Linked DNA regions of Homo sapiens: all the other regions are linked to region 3. The links are contacts of gene promoters, found by promoter capture Hi-C in human tissues and cell types (Jung and others, 2019). All regions are on one chromosome and are shown on one strand. The core of a region is centred on a gene start or on the middle of the fragment in contact, and the rest is flanking DNA. Distances in the headings are between cores, read along the strand shown. Region 1 overlaps EDIL3 (EGF like repeats and discoidin domains 3). Region 2 overlaps EDIL3 (EGF like repeats and discoidin domains 3). Region 3 holds the start of HAPLN1 (hyaluronan and proteoglycan link protein 1). Region 4 overlaps EDIL3 (EGF like repeats and discoidin domains 3).

Region 1 (3,363 bases), core at 406-2,905, 460 kb before region 3:
GCTCAAGCAATCTGCCCGCCTCAGCCTCTGAAAGTGCTGGGATTACAGGCGTGCACCACCTCGTTCAGCTCTTGTTTTTATTAGTGGCTTTGACCCATGCAGGAGGAGTCATTCTCTATAGCACTCTCTGTTCAATACCCTTGCCCCAACCCAGTTGACTCAAGTTATTATTATTCATTTGTCCAGCTCTTCTACCTTGCTTCTTGTTTCAGCTGAACACACTCACTCCTTTTCTGAACAAATCCTCTAGGGCTCTCAAAATCACCTCTTCATACACAGTCAGATACTTAGTTTAATTACCCTTGCTTTCCTTTTCTAATATGTACATCTTAACTTCCTCTTCAGTGGCTTTTCTTTTCCTTATAAATATGTTCTACTCTCTCCAATTAAAATCAGTACAGACTAAATTAGAGAAAACTGTAGTTTTTTGTTTTTGTCTTTTTTCATCTCCCAGGGAGAGCTTTTCCTTCCTTCAACTTGACTCTTCCCTTCTTCACAATCTCAAGTCTGGATTCTGTCCTGAGTCAATTAACATCCTGCAGGAAGAAGACTGTAAGATAGAATTAAAAGTGTAAAAGATTTTTGGGGGGAATGTCTGTGATGCACAAAGGGGAGAGAGAGCAAGAGTAGATAGGATGAGCCTACAGACCGTGACATAGCCTGTCACTTTGAAGGGAGAAAAGGAAGGAGAGAACATGGCATAGAAAAAGTCTCAAACTGCTATGGTTTTAAGAAAAATCTCAGCCACACCATTGGGGCACCTCAGAGTACAGAATGTTTATTAGAGAAGTCTCAGGTCAGGCACGACTGGCCCAGCTAGCTCTATGCCCCTTTGGTATTTAGTTTTTGGCTGGGGAGCCTGGCCTTAAAATAAATGCTGCCACAGCAGATCCTGTGGTTCAGTAGCTGAATGTTGTCAGCTAACCACACTCCTGGCAGCTGGTTTTCTCCAAGAGAGCTCTGAGCAGCACCACACTTTCATTAGCAGCCACAGGTACTAAATAATCTGCTGTTACTTTCTCAAGTTTAAAAATGACCATCAGCCCCTCTTCTCTAAGTATGCAACTTTTGACGGACTGCTCGTTTTAGATTGGCAGAAAATGTGCTTCCCCAGAGGTATGCTCCACCATAAACTCATACTCTATAAAAGCTTTGCAGCCAGCTATCCAATTCACTTGGTTTATGTGGTTACAGCCATATGCTGCTTGTACCAGCAGGGGACAAAAATTGTGGAGTTGTGAATACAACTCCAGAAATTGCTATTCAATATTACTTTTTAAACACCCAGAAGGTATTCTACAATTCAGAAATTTTAATAATATCTAATTTAATGCTAATAATTTTTTGAGTACTTTACATGTGACAGACACTGTTCTGGGTATTTTATATGTATGAACTCTTTTCATCTGTATTATAACCTCTTAAGGCAAATTTTTTAGTATTGACATTTAACAGAAAAGGAAACAGGCATGGAGAAGGTAAGTAAATCTCTCAAGACTGCACGCCTGTGAAGTGGTGAAACCAAGATTCAAACCCAGGCCATTAGTCTCCAGAGCTCATACAACCAGTACATTTACTATGCCACTAATATCTAGAACACTTTTTTCTGTAAAATTATTAATTGCAAAATGTTGACCTAATGTCTACTTTTAAGAATATGCATCAAGCAGAAATATTTTTTTCTGTCTTTCAGGTCCCTGCACTCCTAATCCATGCCATAATGGAGGAACCTGTGAAATAAGTGAAGCATACCGAGGGGATACATTCATAGGCTATGTTTGTAAATGTCCCCGAGGATTTAATGGGATTCACTGTCAGCACAGTAAGTTATTCATAGTCATTGTACTTTTATTATTATTGATTACAAAGTATACAAGCCATCATCATTCTTGTTTGTAGTAGAATCATAGAATCTGAGAGCAGAAGAGAGCCCTGGCTTTGGCTAATGCTGCTTCTCTCCCATGGAATACACCATGTCCACAGTGGAGGACTCCTAGACTGTGTTTCAATCCTCCCAGTGGCATGGGAAGTTTGTAGTCTTCTGGTCATCCCTTTTTATTATTGCCCCACTATCCTTGCCAAAAGATGCACTTTACATTAAACTGATATCTGTCTCTTTCATATTTGTCCTAAAGCCACATCCTTTAAGTTTTCCAAAAATTACTCTGGTGATTAGGTTCAGAGATGATACCCAGAAAAAAAAAAACAAAACACAAAACTGCCACCCTGCCCTTAAGCCAGTTTTCTCCTTCTTACATGTTGGCATTTTTAGTGTGAAAATCTTTGAAAGCTCAATAAGTATGCTACCTGCACTTCTTTTTTAAATCCCAATTCTTATTTATCTTGGAAGGTTAAAGAAAGTAGATCCCACTAGTGATGATTTCTTCTTAGAAGGAGGGGTGAACATAAATGTCAAAGGAATGGTGTGGTGCCTTAGCACTGTAGGTGTTCAGCAAGCAGAGGGGCCACAGCCAACTCTAAGCTGTCAGGGAGATTCTCACAGAGGTTGCCACATGCAAGCTGAGTCTTGAAGGAGGGACAGAATGTTGATCAGAGACAGGGGAATGACACATAGTAGGAAGAGTGGGGAAGGAATAGGCAAGCCATGATTACTGTATTGATGGGTAAGACAATGGTATTAAGAACGATAAGGCAAAGCTGGATTTGTCAGCGAGAGCTGTATCCAAGCACCAGCAAAAAACAGAGTGCCTTCAGGCTCTGTGACTTTGGGAGCATCTTGTACTTTTCTGGAGACATGCCATGGCCAGAAGTTTGTAGAATTTCCGTAGAAACCTATTGTAGTGCATGGGCGTGTGTGCTTTGTACAACGGGCATCTAAACTACTTGGAATTGTCCCTAAAAGCTCAGATCACCAACAAAGCAATGAAAAGCTATTGATTTTTCTCAGGTTGGGCCCAGAGGTGCCAAGGCTAGGTCTCCCTGATGCTAGCTAGCATCACTGCTCAGCCTTCACACATGGACACTTCAAAACAGCCCTGGAAAGATAAAGATAGGAGCCCAGAATCTCAGGAGCCTTGATGTTCACTTAATCCCATGAAGACCATGTTACTTACCCTTACTTACCCTGTGATGTGGCATCAGAGGCAGTGCCCAGAGGGAAACAGACTGGCCACCCCAAGTCTTTTCTCTCATAGCTTCATACTATATTCAAACAAGCTTATAAATACTATATTCAAACTATAGCTTCATACTCTGTTCAAACAATATATAAAATATAGCTTCATACTATATTCAGACAAGCTTATAAATTAATATAATTTTGTTGAATTTCAAGACATTTCAAAGCACAAAGAAATCTTTCCCCTTAATACATCTGACCACCCCCACAACAAGATTTTAAAC
Region 2 (2,942 bases), core at 359-2,858, 440 kb before region 3:
GTTGGGGTTATTTACCACTACTTGGCAGGGATATATGGCTATTTTACATACGGATATTTCTCTTATATCTTTCAAGGGTGCCTGTCACATGGTAGCTGTACTATAAATATTTATTGAATGAATTAGTGCTGGCATATTTTACCAGTATATTTTTAAATATATTTTATTTAAATTCAAGGAAGCACATATTTATAATTTCTGAAGTATGAAGATACCCATGTCATCAAGTAATGAGAACTATAAAAGCTATTTTATCTACATAGACAAACTTAATGTTCAAATCCAGTAAGTATCCTAGTCTACGTTCCTATTCTTCCCAATCATTTAGGATACCTATTTTTATTTTTATATCTACGTCTCTTCATATGTAGGGATTTTACTGCAAACCGTTTTAACTGATTTGTGGAAAAAGCAGGGCATATATTAAAAAAAATATTTTTTCAGATCCCTCTCAGTTGTATCTGCATATATGATGAGAAAATCATAGCACAGCATATACAGCAGTAGTCCCTTATGGCCAGCTTCAGAGGTCTAAGTTGGCCTTCTTAAAAGCAGTCAATTATTACAAGCTTCTAAAGAGCTATGTATTAGTATAAATGATTCACCATATTTAAATACAGTAAAGCAATGGAATCCGTTTAGAAGTTTATAAGGTAGAATTTGATGACATCATACTTTTGATGACAGGATAGTATTTTGATGAAAATGGATAGCATTTTCTAGTATGGATAATCATTCTCAGTATCTTCATTTAAGATGAATTAAACTGCAAGTTTATACATGTGTTTTGTTTTGTTTTGCTAAAACTTTCCTTATGCATTTTTCTGTCTATAAAAGATGTCACAATGTCCATGTTAATACCTTACTACTAACATTATTCTAAGTTACGTAGATAGATTGACCTAGCATGGCTGATTTTGATCTTAAGTTGCACTGATTAGTCTTTTAAGTTTGATTAGATGAATTTCTGAGCTATCCATGACTTTTTTATTAATAAAGTCATCCAAGATATTTAGTGTATTTTTGCATTGATGGTCTTATATGTTAAAAAGTAAATAAACATGAAATTACCTTATTTCCTTAAAGTAACTTAATTCTTAGTGAGCTTTATTTTTTAATTGATATTTTAAACTCATAGGAATATAACGTATTTCAGTTTCTCTTTAAGGTATAGTCTCATAGGAATGTAAGTGACATTTTTGTCTGAGAACATAGTCTTTCTCTTTCCTCTTCAGAGCAACCAAATTGAGGAAAAATTTATTGCCAGCTATCTTTCTGCCATAGTTTATGGCCTGCAATTCTCAAATGGTTTAGAGAGTATATTTAAAATGAACTTCCTGGTCATTTTCTGTTTTTCAGGGACTTTAAACATGATTTGGGTTTGTCATCTAAAAGTAGAGTCACTCTTTGAGGTTCAAATTTCTTGCCCAACTTTTATTTTTAAAGCTTTCTCAAATACAAAGCTCAAGAGTCTTGGTCGATTTAAAAGCCCACTGTCTGTTTTCCCTAAATATTTACTTTTAAAAATATGATTGATATTAAGTATGTTATTACTGAAAAAGGAAGAAAAGGACTGTGGGAAGGTCAGAAAGAAATAAAACACTAAGCTTTTCCTTTTATTATGATGATGTCATATAATCAGTTACATATGGACTGCTGCTTCAGTGCCTTTCTTGGGAGGCCCAAAGACAAGGGGCTATGGCCTAAGCTGTCCTCACTGGATACAGATCAAGGACAGAGAAAGGTATGGGGAATGGAGTACAGTTCTAGAATATGGCAGGGAAAGAATATGTGTGGATTTCCTGTGGGCCAGATGTGGACTTCTCAAAACCAAGAAGCTCTGTTATCTTGGGAGCCCAAGAGGAAAATCCAGAGAAGGTCCCTGTGCAATCAACATGGTGCTCCAAGGGGATCCAGGGCACAGAGCATAAAGGCCCATAAAAGAAGGCAGCTAGAGGTAAAGAATTCCCAGTGATGAAATGTCATCACAGAACCTTCCATTGTCCCAGGAAAAAAAGAGCCCACAAAGCACATCTGCCAAATCCAGATCACCAAAGCCATGTTTCAACCTGACCATCAAGGATTTCATCTCATCCACTTTGGTACTGAAGATGTCAAAAGAAACTAGAGAATGGAGGATAAGGTGGAATGAGAGAAGAGAATATCGCCTTAACTCACTTCCCAGTTCCTTCCTTAGACACTGCCAGGAGGGACCCCTTGTCCTGGATCTCACATTGGAGATCTTGCTCTGGCTTTCTTCTGGAACCACTCCTCTCTATGGAGCAAGACATCCATGGGTACAAGGGAACATGCCCACCTGGAGACTTATTCCCCTTTCTAGACCATGCTGAAGATAATCCAGAACCCAGAATGGTCTGCCCAAATGGTACCCAGCATACTTCTAGGCCCCATGTGAGCCCCTTCTCCATATCTGTCCTCCCATGTGTCACTGTGTCACTAGTGGGCACACACCTGGGATCAGTGACATGCCATGGAATATCTGATTACTGCTTGGGAAAGACAGTGATCAGGTGCTTGGGCTTGGATATCTGTAGAGAAGAGTGGGTTGAAAGCTGTTTCTCTTATGGTCCTCAATTCTAAATTCTAAATTCCAACCTAGTTCTAAATTTAGAGTTCTAAATTCCAACCTAGTCTTCCACATTGTTAGAAAGATAGGTGACAAATGTTTTAAATAATTTATTAGCCTTATGATAACTTTTAATGATTTAGACCCATAAGAGAGTTTCCATTGTGACCCAGACTGTGAATTTTAGGTGAGGTCCCACTTCTCCACTGCAATTTTCCCAGGTAGGCCTAAGCTGGGAATGAGGAGTTCCAACTTGGATATCACTATGAATTTTTAGATGCTACAAAACTAGACTTATTTTAGTAAGGAAGGTACAGGCGATTGTCTAGTAGCTAAAAGTAAGCTTAGGGCATTT
Region 3 (3,437 bases), core at 791-3,290:
ACCTGTTCCCTGTGCGGGAGGGGAAACAGAAAAATAAGAGAAGCGCCCTCACCCAGGTTTTGGAATTCCAAGAAAGGTGTTGAACGCCTGATGAAGAATTCATTTTGAATATAACTGTCTTCATTTAGGGAGGGTGTGTGAGTGTTCCGTTTGTCTTTGAAATGAAACCTTTCCAAGAGGCACGTGTTGATTTACCAAAGACAGAATGGCAAGGGGGAGCCCAGAGGCAAGAACTGGTGAAATCTCTCAGAAGACGCGGGAAGAAGCCTTTTTTCCCCTGCAATCTCTCCCGCCTCTCTCCAGAGTCCAGGAGGAGGCAGTCCCCGTGGCTTAGGCTTTATCTTTAAGACAATAGCGCCGCTCGCCGCCACCCGCGCGACTCGGATCGGGCATCCCGGCGGCCGCACCCCGCGCGCTGGCTCATCTGCACACCGGCCACCTGCATTGTCGGCCAGAGCCCCCGTCCCGGCGGCTTCCCCAGCAGCTTGGCTGCCCCTCAGGTCCTCCCATCCCACCTTGCACCTCCAGGACGCCCTGGACCCGCCCATCCTCCTGCCCCACTAGCTCATCGACTTACGACTCCCTCAGTCCCTACGGCCCACGGAACCCTCTCCCCAACCCGCGCCACAGCCCGAGCGGCGGCGGCGGCCTTAAGAAGCCCGCAGTCCCGCCCGCGCCGCCCCGCCGGGGCCGGAGGTTGGAGCCGGGAGCACGGCCGCGAATCCCCGCACGTCCCCAGCGCTCCGCGACACCGGGCCCTGCTCGCTGCAACTCGGGGACGGCCTGCGTCTCGCCTCCACCCTGGCCGCGGGCCCCTCGAGCTTGTTTGCTTGTCCTCAGTCCCAGGGCCAGCCCCGCTCCCTCCTCCCGGCTGCTCCAACAGCCGTTTGCTTCCTGCGGTGTGTTTCTTTTTTCCCCTTCCTAGACTCCATCAAAGGTGGCTCTGTTATTGAAATATGAAGCCATTTCCTCTCCAAAACCCTTGGTTACTCAAGGCGGGAATCAATGGACCTATATACTCTCCCAGAAGTTATAAATAAACGTCTATTTGTTCAGGAGGCGTTTTCCCGCGTGTCCCAGCATCTTCCCCACTGGTTATTTCAGGGGTGTGTGTGTCTGTGTGTGTGTGTGTGTGTGTGTGTGTGTGTGTGTGTGCGCGCGCGCGCCCTGTGCCCATCTGGTTCTAATCCTGGTTATGGATCCACAACCCAACCCCACCCATCCCGTCTCCCCCTCGCATTCCTCGTTCTATAAATAAATCCAGGTTCTTTGAGCTCTGTCATCCAAGGATACAATAGCAGTTGTTTGTTAAGAGAAATTTAAACTCAACACCAATACTGAGTCCAGTAAACCAGAAAATATGCTTCTGGTGATTTGGGTGGAAGGCCATCTCCAGTTTAAGAAGCTTTATGTGCCACTATCATCATTGTCTGTTATCCTTGATCTCCTTTGGTGAGGGGAAGGCGGGAAAGAGAGGACCTCTCCGACCCTTGGATTTTTCTTTTAAGCAGAGGCTAATAAAACAAAGCGCAAACTGACTGTCCTGAGGAGTCTGCTCACACCGCTGCCCCGCAGATCATTCCACAGACCCCTTGTCCCATCCCTTCTGGACAGACCCAGGACTGATGAGGGTTCGGGTTCGGGAGGTGTGGTGTGGTGGGGGCTTGTGTGGCTGTAGCGGCCGGCTTTCCTAAACCCCAGAGCGGGATACTCGGGATCTGAGCAGAGGGGAAAGTCATCTAAGAGGCTGCTGCTTTACAAGGTCTGGGCACAGAGCTGCCCCTCCCTTCCTCCCTGAAGTTTGCATGAAGTGCACATTAGGCTGTAATTAGGGGATTTGGGAGGAGAACTTTCCTGGTGACGCTTTGCTTTTCTTCTGCTCTTGGTGAGAAAGTGCCTCCTTCTTCCCAGGATCAGGACCTCTGCCATCCAGCGCCACAAAGAGACATTCTGCACACACACTCACACACGCACACACACACACACTCTCACACTCGCCCAGAGACAAACTTAAGGTGAGGAGAAAGAGCGCTAGCTTCACTTGATCTCCAGCTTCCAACTTAAGCAGAACTTGAGAGCATCCGAACTCCTGGATTTCAGGACAAGGTAAAACTTGCAAATTGTTTCCCCCTCTTTTGGTTATACCTTTGTGCCTTTAAGATTTCAGAGGGCAATACACATGCAATGTATATATACATTAAACAAATTTTATTCTTTTCTTTTGAGTTTAGTTTTCATTTGAATTTAATATGACACCTCAACTTTTAAAAAAGTTTCATATTGTCGGATAAAATATTTCACTACAATAAACAGGCTCAGTCTAAAAATGGAGAAAGAATTAACTCTAGTATCTTAGCTTCTGCTAGTGCTCCTGTAAATCTGGTAGGGTCATGGTTTCCAAGTGGTGACTTTTCTATCTGTATCTCAACAACCATTTTTATAGCACCTGAGATGAAACAAGGATAGTATAGGCTGAAGGGAAAGGTGAGGAATGGGAATGTCCAGCCAGGCTTATGAATTTTGTTTCAGAGAATATATAGGGTTATGTGAAAAAGAAAGTTACTTTAGGCATAGGTAATACCTGTTAGATTAATAATCTTAGAAATGTTGCCATTTTTGGCCCAGGCTTCCTTCTCCAGCTAATTATGAACTTAAGATCATAGAATGATGATGCATTTCATATATACAATGATGTTGATGGATAATTTGAATGCACTGAAGAGAATTTATAGTCATAGTTAAGATTACTGTTAAAAGTTGCTTAAAGAAATTATTTGTATGTTGAGACTGTTCCCCACCAAAAACAAACCTAAACTTGTTTGGGCTTCGATTAAGTAGTTTTCTTCCATTGAATGTGACTGTTGTGTTCAAAATAAGATGGCTTATTAATTTGAGAATAAGTTGCTTTATTTTCATTTATCACTGGAAAAATACACACAGTGGCCAGTACATTTGGGAATTTTTAGGGTGGAAAGTGTTCCTGTACATGTTCCAGTGTGATGTCATAAAATCAAACATACTGGCTGGCTTCTTGGAAGCTAATAGTTCTTAAGAAATTAAGGCTGTGGATTGATTTCTAAATGAATGTAATATTTATTCATTACAATTGTAGTTTCTGGTAACTATTTCTATGTGATTATTTCTGTGTACTAAATTTGCAGAGATTTTATACACATTTCAGTCATTTCAGTATTTTAATGGAATGGGAATATTGTTCTATCAAAAGTATATCATAGTAGTTATCTTTGGAGAATTTTTAATGTGATATGATTCATAATTCTTATATCAGTTAACAAATTCCATTTACCTACAAAAATGAAAGTTTCTCTTCCATTCAGTAAAATATAATGTATACCAAAGGACTCTTCAGATATTAGCTTTAGTCTTTAGTCACTTTTATACCACCCATTTTAAAAAATTTAATTGTTTCAGCTAAG
Region 4 (3,164 bases), core at 112-2,611, 400 kb before region 3:
GTAAAACTATTTTTTTTTGTTCCTTGGGTAGCAGTATTATTAACCTAACAATATACAAAGTAACACATAAAATTCTGTCCAATGAAGTTGATAAGCCAATATGATAAGAATAAAGTAATTTTTCTAATGCACAATTATCTATCAATTAATTTCTAGTGGGCATCTCTGTGCCACTTAGCAGGTGACAATAGCATCTCCGATAGAGTTTTCACTTGGAAAACTGTTGACATTTCACCTGTTTTGAACAAAAGGTCCATTAAAATTTTCTTAAACATGTTTTCTGATTACAAAAGTATTCCATATCTGAACAGGAATACTTGGGAACCACAAAATTAATTATTCAATTTTATTTCATTCTAAAATGGAGTTCATTTAAATCGACACATGTAACATACCATCAGAGGCTATGCATATAATATTTACATATTGTTACTTGGTTCTTTCTACAACGTGTCTTCCCTTGTGTCTGGTTGGCCAAATCCCTTTTCCGATCTAAAATTTGTCGGTAAAATAGACATTGTTTCTTCAGTGTACTTAATTTTCTCTTTGGTAATACCTAAAATACCTGCATAAGTATTTTATGCATACCTGGATAAGTTGGGCATTTGATAAGTTCAGGCAGTCGAGTGGCTAAGATGTCTCTGAGTTTAGTAAGAATTCTCTAGGGAGAAAGTTACCTTCATCTATTTTGATTGGTGTAAAATTGGGAAGCAGATAAACACTTGTTTAAACATAATGAACAGGCAACTGGATACATTTAATCCAAGTTTAAACTGAATTTTATAAAAGAAAAAATAGTAGAAAACTGCATAGTATTGGTCTTATACTTTTTAACAACATGTAAGTAAAAAGGAACTACTGTTTTTCACTCTAGTCACACCTCCACTGCTTCCAAGAATATGACAGTACATACAGTTTTTGAAATTTTAGGAGCTGGATAGACAAGTAAATTGTCTACAAGGCTGCTTTTATTACTCATTGAAATGATGTTTTTTTAGTATTCTACCTTAACAATAAAGTACTAGAGAGAAGTAAAAACCTATAAAAATCATGTTTCAGTTAATAATTCATGTTATTAATTAGTCATGCTTTTGAGAAATGGGAGTTAAAACTAACTTTTCAAATGATTGCAAGGTGTGTGAAGTAAACATAATCAATTGATTTATTTTACTCAATTTACTTTCTAATCTGTTGACACAGATAATGAGCCTTGGCTCTACATTAACGTGAATATGATAGAAAAGAGAAATATACAGGCAAAATCCAAGTTTATGCATATATGAATGTTTAATTGGTATTTGCTTATTCATTTAAGGATTGTTGTGTACATACATGAAACACAAGACTATTAGAAACAAATTTAACCACAGCAACAAAAATGATCTGTGGTTGGGACACAAAATTCTTGATAAAATAATGCTTAAAATTTTGAAATTTATACATAAACTTTTACCTTTTAATGCTAAATCAGACTAATGTCATAATTGCCCAGATGCTGGTTTCATGTTTGAAGATGTTAGCATTGAAAATAATTGCCTCCACAATTTATCCTGAGGCATTTTCTTAAACAGAGAAAAATGCACTATGCTGTAATAGGCTTTCTTAAAAGAGGAAATGTGAAAATAGTTATTAAATTGTAGAGAGAAAATACACAGTGAGAGAGAGGAAAAATAAGGCTGTAGAAGTTCTTGAGGTAGGCAGTTCACCATGTTCCTAGTCTACAGATGTCTCATTATAAAATTATTCTGAATTTAGTTTCTAATAACCTGCTTCAGCTGTAAAATCACTTTCAATCTTAGAAAACTAAAGTATTAAATGTTATACCTCTGCTTTGCACAAAGAAGAGGCTCAATAAATATTAGTTAAATGTTGAATGAATAACAGTCCATGTTGAATCTTTAGTCCAACCACGGCAGAACAACGGTGACGGAGAACACAAAGTGAGTTAGATCACTGTCCTACATCTTCATAAACAAGACATCTAAGTGCCCTCCTCATCATTTTTTATAGTTTCTCCACACTCCTTAAGGCATATGCAGCAAACAGAACACCCCCAGCGTGTCATTACAATGTTTATCATGACCCATTGGTAATAGATGTACCTGGGTTCAAATCCTGGCTGTAAGACTTTAGGGGAGTTACTTAACCTCTCTGAGTCTCAATTGCCTCAATTACAATTGGAAATAAAGATACTCTCCATGAGGGATAGCATTAGGAGATATACCTAATGTAAACGACGAGTTAATGGGTGCAGCACACCAACATAGCACATGTATACATATGTAACAAACCTGCACGTTGTGCACATGTACCCTAGAACTTAAAGTATAATAATAATAATAAAAAGATACTCTCCATGGGGTTGTTTTAAGGCCAAAATGCCTGACATATTTTTCTCTGCAGTATGTATGTGCAGGCTCCATTTGTATTTTTTAGGAAGATCTGTGAGAGAAAAGATAAATCCATACCTTTGGAAGGGGAGCAGGAAAGAGTTATGGACAGTCCACCTAAACAAGGGAATCAACACATTTAGATATTACTTATCTTAGTTGCAGAAGAGAAAGATATTGGATGAGGAGATATACAAGAGTGAAGTGCACTTGAGGTGAGAATGGGTAAAATGCTGCAAGAGTTTGCATTGCAAGGTAGAGAACCATCCTAGAGGGAGATACTGTCTGTTATGTTTGCCTCAATTAAATTGATCAATGATGTTTTTGAGCAGCTGTTACTTCCAGGCTCTTTATAAGATGCGAGGAATAGGCCCATTTATCGGTCAGGACCCAGATATAACTGTTGTTTGGAAGAATTTACAATCTAATGTGGAAGACAAATTCTTAAATACATAAATGCCCATTAAAAGTATATTTAAATGCTCAGTGCTATGATACACATATGCTTAGAGTCTTTTTGTACCCCAGAATTGGCACAAATAACTCTGTTTGGGGGAACGCTGGGACAGCGAAGAAAAGGACAGAGGCATGAGCTGCAAAAATACTTCCTACACTGTCATCTAAGTAAAATTCAGTCTAAGGTTTGCAGTTTGATATTGCTAGAAGGTAAATTTCAAGCAGCCAAGAGGATGACCTTTTTTTTTTCTGACCAATGGGGACCTATTGAAAAAAAAATGTAGATAGATAGATAGATAGATAGATAGATAGATAGAT

Evidence for each region. Contacts are between HindIII fragments. The study calls those that stand out against the background at their distance.
Region 1: a contact is called between a fragment that was not itself captured here and the fragment with the promoter of HAPLN1 in region 3, in 1 of the 25 tissues and cell types used here (H1 embryonic stem cells).
Region 2: a contact is called between a fragment that was not itself captured here and the fragment with the promoter of HAPLN1 in region 3, in 1 of the 25 tissues and cell types used here (mesenchymal stem cells).
Region 4: a fragment that was not itself captured here is called in contact with the fragment with the promoter of HAPLN1 in region 3 in 1 of the 25 tissues and cell types used here (mesenchymal stem cells).

The regions. Positions count from the first base shown.
Region 1 is chr5:84,178,852-84,182,214 of GRCh38, reverse strand. It overlaps EDIL3 (EGF like repeats and discoidin domains 3), which reads left to right. Exons shown (of 11, transcript NM_005711.5): 4 at 1,694-1,822. Among named protein-coding and RNA genes, the nearest start is that of EDIL3-DT, 200 kb to the left of the region's middle. The HindIII fragment of the contact is 5,639 bases long and covers 1-3,363 here.
Region 2 is chr5:84,161,599-84,164,540 of GRCh38, reverse strand. The region is part of intron 4 of EDIL3 (EGF like repeats and discoidin domains 3); the gene reads left to right. Among named protein-coding and RNA genes, the nearest start is that of EDIL3-DT, 220 kb to the left of the region's middle. The HindIII fragment of the contact is 4,212 bases long and covers 1-2,942 here.
Region 3 is chr5:83,719,458-83,722,894 of GRCh38, reverse strand. It overlaps HAPLN1 (hyaluronan and proteoglycan link protein 1), which reads left to right and starts at 2,040. Exons shown (of 5, transcript NM_001884.4): 1 at 2,040-2,106. RefSeq lists a silencer at 396-455. The HindIII fragment of the contact is 27,926 bases long and covers 1-3,437 here.
Region 4 is chr5:84,121,543-84,124,706 of GRCh38, reverse strand. The region is part of intron 5 of EDIL3 (EGF like repeats and discoidin domains 3); the gene reads left to right. Among named protein-coding and RNA genes, the nearest start is that of EDIL3-DT, 260 kb to the left of the region's middle. The HindIII fragment of the contact is 5,018 bases long and covers 1-3,164 here.